Regions from separate parts of the Homo sapiens genome. Here region 2 is linked to region 1. The links are contacts of gene promoters, found by promoter capture Hi-C in blood cells and fetal thymus (Javierre and others, 2016). All regions are on one chromosome and are shown on one strand. The core of a region is centred on a gene start or on the middle of the fragment in contact, and the rest is flanking DNA. Distances in the headings are between cores, read along the strand shown.

Evidence for each region. The method cuts DNA at HindIII sites, captures the fragments that hold promoters and counts their contacts. A CHiCAGO score of 5 or more calls a contact.
Region 2: a contact is called between a fragment that was not itself captured here and the fragment with the promoter of PRLR in region 1, in 1 of 17 cell types (monocytes). The highest score is 6.6, in monocytes.

What each region holds. Positions count from the first base shown.
Region 1 is chr5:35,228,764-35,232,347 of GRCh38, reverse strand. PRLR (prolactin receptor) reads left to right here and starts at 1,861. Exons shown (of 10, transcript NM_000949.7): 1 at 1,861-2,080. The HindIII fragment of the contact is 6,146 bases long and covers 1-3,584 here.
Region 2 is chr5:35,441,032-35,444,615 of GRCh38, reverse strand. No RefSeq gene overlaps it. Among named protein-coding and RNA genes, the nearest start is that of SPEF2, 180 kb to the left of the region's middle. The HindIII fragment of the contact is 1,875 bases long and covers 795-2,669 here.

The sequences.
Region 1 (3,584 bases), core at 612-3,111:
GCCAGCCCTGCCCTTCTTACCAGTGAGGTATGGATTAGCCACGCAACGACCAGTCTGTAAGCCAGGAGTACAGACGAGCCAAGCTGCCTGCAGCTGAGTGGGAACCACAAGGAGGAAAAGCCAAGTCCCTGCCTTCTAAGAGCTGACAGTCTGGAGTTACCCAGAGTGATCTTCTATTTCACTAACTGTTAAAATAGTCTGATTAGAACAACTATTGTAGAATTGAGTGACCCTTTGCTTTGCAAAGGTCATATAGAAATATTCTGCCACTGAGGATCTCATGTCGCCCAGTGGTTCTGAAAATAAATAGAAGTTGCGTACCTTCATGGACACCCATGAATGAAAGTAAATATACCCTAATCATCACAGGAAGCATGTGCGGTCTGCACGTGAAAGATGCATCTCCCATCAGCTAACAGAACCAGGTGGAGTCTATGTTTTAATAAGGACGTGTTATTGATCAGGAAGTATTAGGTTATTATGCCTAGGTAGTTGCTTCTGGGATTCCAGTCCAAAAGGATCACCAAAGCATCATGGGATTTTCAATGGCTTCCTGTGGCTTGGCAAATGCTCACTGCTAACTGTGATTTCCCAGTTATCCAGAGTAGCAGTCAAATCAAAGGGGAAAGCCTCATGTTTCAATAACTTAAAACAAAACAAAAAAAAAAACGGCCAGGCGCAGTGGCTCACGCCTGTAATCCCAGCACTTCAGGAGGCCAAGGTGGGTGGATCATGAGGTCAGGAAATCAAGACCATCCTGGCTAACAGGGTGAAACCTCATCTCTACTAAAAATACAAAAAACTAGCCGGACATGGTGGCACGCGCCTGTAGTCCCACCTACTCGGGAGGCTGAAGCAGGACAATTGCTTGAATCCAGGAGGCAGAGGTTCCAGTGAGCCGAGATGGGGTCACTGCAATCCAGCCTGAGCGACAGAGCGAGACTCTGTCTCAAAAAAACAAACAAAAACAAACAAAAAAAAAAACTCAGTAACCTTGGTTTAAAGTATTTCCTTGGTGGCCCTCTGGGTTGTGTAACAATCGGATGCATTAATTATTATGGCATCAAATGACACCAGCAACATACATAGTCAGAAATAACTATTTGATTCAGGCAGGTGCTATTATTTGTTTCAGCACTGTTAAATGTGGGGTTTTTGTTTTTGCAAGAGAAAAGGCGGTTGTGTGTGGTTTCAAGAAGAAGAAAAGTCAGAACAACATGCAGCCCATTAGAAAAGATAAATTCTTTATTTGTGGAAAACAACAGAAGTGGGGCTATTTAGGCACCGCCAATGTTTATTATATTCATATGGCAGAGAATAAACACAGCACACTAGAAGTTTGCGCTTTGGGTATTAAAAAAAAAAAAAAGCAAAACCTTCTTAGGTCACTGACTATCTTCTTTTGCTCCTTTCTATCTGACTCCTCAGGCAAGGTGCAATTCAAATCCCTGGAGAACCTCTCAAATATAGCTGCTGTTCAATGTTACTCAGAAATAAGGAAAGAAATTTGACACGGAGACACTCCACATCTTGGCTGCCTGGAAAAATATCATCTTTGAGGTCATTCAACTCACTAAGTCATTTTTATTATTGTTTTGTCTGTCTATTTTCTGGTACAGTCTCAATGAAAGATATGTGGCCCTAATCATGCAAAACCGATCTGGGGGGAATCAGTTGTTTCTTCAGGTCTTCGCAGGATTCCAGCTCCCCCAACTACCTCCGTCGCCTTCTAAAACTGGCAGGCTCTGGACGTTTTGCATGCTGAAGAAAATCACTGTTTTGCCTCCAGCAAGGAACATAAATGTTGCAACACTGACTCCTCCTCTCATGAAGAAAGAGTGAACAAGTGCACCGAGTTGAGCTTCTTCTCACAGAGCCACCGGGCTGGGGACCGGGGAGCGGAGGCTGAAATCCCCAGACGCCGGTTTTCTGGGCTGGGCTTTCTGCCTTACTCACTCCTTCTCCCTCTTTCTGGATTTTACCGACCGTTCGCGAAACAGCTTTCCACACAATGGAGCTTCATGTCCTCGTGCAGGAAGTACTCATCGACTGATGTGGCAGACTTTGCTCCCTGGCAAAAGTGAGTACCCATGGCGAGCTGAGGCCGCCTCCGACGGCGCGCGGCAGGGGCTGCGCGGGCGGCCGCTCTCCGGGATGCGGGTTCGAGGCCCGCGTGCTGAAGGGGAGAGCGGGGCCACCGGCGCGGGCTCCTGGAGAGAACGCCAGCCAGGAGCCAGAGTCGGCAGCCGGCGGGGAAGCCCGGGATCCGCCCGCCTCCCGCCCGGATGTCCCTTCTCAGAGGGGCTAAAAAATACTCTTAAGGTGCTTTGCCTCCACCACTGCCCCCAACCCCAGCTTTTACAAACTGCACTCGGCTCGCATTCGCCTTTGTCAAAGGCATCTTCACCTGTATCCTTGAGCATGAGTTTCGGCGTTGATTGTGGGATTCTCAGAATGCAAATTATTTGCGTCAAAATAAAAAGAAAAGAAAAAAAGAGCGGGGAGGGGGAAGGGGCGCAGACAGGTGATGTGATGAAAGCCGGACTCGAGACTCTCCCATCAGCAGCAGCCGCCGCCGCAGCAGCCTCGCGGGCATCCGGCGGGGAAAGTTTAGGGTTAGCAATGCTGACCTGAAAGGTGTTGCTCCTCCCAAAAGTCAGCGGGGGTAGGGGCAGATGAGCAGCCTCCGGGCCAGAAGCCGGAGCTGGACGGAGGCACCTAGGCAGAGGAATTGCAGCCCGGGAGGAAGCTGGAAGGAGAGCCCGCTGGAGAAGGGAGGAGGGAAGGGAAGAGGAGTTGGTTAAAGTCAGGCAAACTCAGGTAACTGGAGGGCCGGCCCGAGTGCTACGGCAGGGGAAGGCAAGGGCTGGAGTTCTGGCTCTTTGAGTAGAAAACTATCCTTTTAGTGACCTCTACCTGTATCCTGGGGAAGCAACCCACACTGCCCTGAAAACAAGCAACGTAGGGGATTCTATGACTGGACTTGAAAATGGTTGCAAAACATTATTATTAGTCTGGAGGGATCACTTTGTCTTCATTTGTCAAGTTGACCGGGCAAGATTTCCCACCTGAAATCGTGCTTCACTTGACCAGGGAAGTGCTGCTAATCCCAATCCTGACCATCAGCTGTGCAAACTTGGGCAAGATACTTACCCTCTCTGGGCTTCGATTTTTTTTCTGCAAAGTTTAGGGAATTAATTAATTATATATATATATTATAGAAATATATATAATATATATATAAATGTTTAATGAGGTGGAAGTGCTGAATAGTGCAAGAGAGGAGCAGATGAAAATATTAATTTCAGTGGTTCTTAAAAATTAGGGGTGATAGGTCCTTTTGAGAATTAGCTGTGAGTCCTCTTCCTGGGGCAAAATGCATATGGCATGTACATAAAATTTTACATGCAATCCCTGAGGGTTTGTGGATACTCCCTGAAAGCCATGCCTGAATCCCAGGTGACAATCCCTTATTCCTCCTCCTGTATCAAGACCACCCAGCCAACTCCTTGCTGCTGGTTGGGCTGACTGTGGGAGTAATCCACAGCCTTCTTGGGGGTCTGGAGTCAGCCACGCTGCTGAAG
Region 2 (3,584 bases), core at 483-2,982, 210 kb before region 1:
CTTGGTTGTAGATAGGTTTAGTGTGCTGGCTTTCTCAGAGGTTAGTTTTCATGTGGAGACACTCAGGACCTCTGTTTACTCAGGATGTTGCAGGCTGTGGAATTAGCTGTTATTTCTTCCTTCCTAGGAGCTGGGTTATTCTGTCATGAGTTGCTGTAATGGCCTGAGTTGGTTGGCCTCCAGCCAGCAGGTGGCACTTTCAAGAAAGCACCAGCTGCTGTAGTAGTAGAGGAATATGAGCCTGCCTCAAGTTGGTCAGGGGAAGTATTCTGATTTCTCAGGCAATGGGTGGGGCCATAAAGCTCCCAAGTGTTTCTGTCTTTTGTGTTCAGCTACTAGATTAGGTATAGAAATATCATCAGGTGTGGGCGGGTTTAGACAGCACTGGGCTCAGACTCTCCTTGGGTAGGGTTTGCTGCAGCCACTGTAGGGTATGAGGGGTGGTTCTCAGGCCAGTGGGGTTATGTTCCAGAGGGGATGATGGCTGCCTCTGCTTTGTCATATAGTTCACAAGGGAAGTGGAGCATAGCCGGTAGTGAGAGGCCTCACTCTACTCCCACTCAGTTGGCAAGGCTAATCTCAATCCCACAGTGCCCTGATGAGAACTTGCCCCAGGCTGTGAGCTTCCCCACTGAGAAAGCAAGCATGTCTTTCAGACCTCATCCTTCCCAGTCTGCCCACATTGTGAGTGGTGGCTCCTGCACTCGTATCTGCAGCAGTTCCCACTCAACGCCCATATTCTGCTCAGGAAAATTCATGCCCTGTCGATATTATTACTAATTTAGTTGAAAGCTTCCTTCACCCTGTGTGCCCTCCTTAATTCTGCTGGCTGCCTTCCCTGAGGCCCTTGTGGAATAGAGTCAGGGTTGGCTTCCCTGGGCTCAAGAGGGAGACTGGGAGTACCTACAAGGCTCTTTCCACTGCTGCTTCTACTTTTATATTTCATGCGGCTCTCTAAATCTGTTTAAGCACTAGGTAAGGTTAAATCCTTCTCCTGTAATCCAGATGTTCAGATTCCCCAGTGGGGGTATGTGTTTAGAGGCAGGTTTTCCCCCGCTCACATTTTGGGAGCTCACAGTTTTTTGCCCGTCTTTGGGAATTTGCAGTGGCATGCCACTTCTTTCAAAGGATCTGTGAATTCTTTCAGTTTTCCCGGTACATTCCTGTGGTGGTTCTTGGAGCAAAAGTTCACAGTGTGTCTCCACATGCTGTTCTGTCTATACAAGTGGGAACTACATGTTAGCCCTGTCTCCTATCTGCCATTTTCTTCCTAAAATTCTATACTATAGAAATTGAATTGCAAGGTATTTAAACTTTTGAGATTTCTTTTAGCAGCATTTTATTGTATGTATACACCACAATTTATTTATTTATTTATCCATTGAGGGATAATGGGTTTCCAGGTTTTTGGTGATTATAAATACACATGCTATAAAATTTAGTGCACAGGTTTTTGTATGGACATAAGTTTTAATTTCTCTAGAGTAAACATCTAGATATGAGATTGCTAGGTCATATGGTAAATGTTTGTTTAGCTTTATAAGAAACTGCCAAACTGACTTCCTAAATGGCTGTAATGTTTTACATTCCCATCAACAGTGTTTGAATATTCTAATAGATTTGCGTGCTCACTAGCACTTGGTATAGTCATAACTTTTTATTTTAGTCCATCTGATAGGAATGTATGTAGTGACATCTCATTATAAGTTCTATTTTTTAAAATACTTCCTTTTAAAATAGTTTTATATTTACAGAAAATTTTCAAAGATGGTCCAGAGAGTTCCTGTATACTCCATACTCAGCTTCCCCAATTAATTATGTATTACATTAGTATGGTGTATTTGTCACAATTAGTGAACAAATTATTGATACATTATTAACTAAAGTCCATCCTTTTTACATTTCCTTAATTTTTACCTAACGTCTGTGTCTGTTTCAGGCTCTCACACAAGATACCACTACATTTGGTCATCAGGTCTCCTTAGGCTCCTTTTAGCTGTGAGTTTTTTGAATTTTCCTTATTTTTGATGACCTTGAAAGTTTTAAGGAGTACTGGTTAGGTATTTTGTAGAGTGATCCTCTATTGGGCTTTGTCTGATGCTTTCCTATAACTAGATTAGCATTGTGGAATTTGAAGAGGGAGGCCACAGTAGCATTTTCATCACATCATATCAAGAGTACATACTACTGACATGACTTGTTGATGTTGACCTTGATCAGCTGAATCAGGCAGTGTCTGTAAGGCTTCTCCACTGTAAATTTACTCTTTCTTTTCCTTCTCCATACCATACTCTTTGGAAGGAACTCACAAAGCATAGCTCACACTTAAGGAATGAGGAGTTATGCTCTAATGCTTCATCTCCTTGAAGGCCAAGTATCTATAAAAACAAATTATTTGGAATTCTTCTGTATGGGAAATTTTTCTATTCTTTCCCCATTTACTTACTTACCCGTCCAATTATTTATTTAAGTAAGTGTGGACTCATGGATATTGATTTTATAGTGTGAGTTATAATTCAATAGTACTTTATGTTGCTGCTCAGATTGTTCTAGCTTTGTCCAGTGGGAACTCTTTCAGCTGGCTCCTATGTCATTTTGGTTTTTTGTTAGTTTTGGCTTTATGCTTTTAGCACTTCCTTACTTTCTGCCACTTCAAGATGTTCAAAGCTTATCTTTTATATTTTCTGCCAGTATAGAATCAGCCATTTCTCCAAAGAGATCTCAGTTTTTAAATTTGTGTTTATCTAGTGTTAGTAACCAAGTTCTGGGTGCTAAGTATGTTCATTCCTTCCAGGCCCTCTCAGCTAAGAGAAAGAAAAATATGTGTGTATACTAATACATGTATATATGTATGTCTATAAATAAGTATATATTTAGCCAGTATATTTATATTAAGCTAAGAATGAGTTTATACTGATATTTCCAACTCTAATCCATTGCTACATCGATTGTTCTAGTTTCCTGCTCCTCTTGCTTATCTATAAGCCTCACATTCCAACTGTGAGAAACTGGTCTTCCAACATCTGCCATAAATTTACTTTATTGTTCATTTCCAGTGTACACATATAGTGGTTTCAGAATTGTAAACCCATACCCTCATGGGAAGAAACTCTATTTACTAGAGTACACTGCTTATTTATAGTTTCTTTTGCTTTTTATCTTACAGATTCCACTCGTTTCCAAAGTCACTTAGGTCAGCACCATTTCATCCCCTCCCCTTTAGTGAGGTTATTTTGTACATTTGTAATACAGTTAGATTATCTTGTCACATTCTGCATTCTTCCATCTTTGGATTCCCCAACCTCCTAAACTTTTTCTTTTATTTGCATCCCTTAAGGTTTACTCCTTGTGCTGGAAGGTTCTGTGTTTTGATAAATGCATGTCATATATCTATCATTACAGCATTATATGAGAATAGTTTCACTGTCCTAGAAAATCCCCTGTGCTATTAACCTCCCTACCCCCAAATCCTAGTGACCACTGATATGTTTATTATCTCTATAATTTTGCCTTTCCAGTTTCCCATACTAATGGAATTATAGAATATGCAGCCTTTTCAAACTGCCTTCTTTCACTTAGCAATA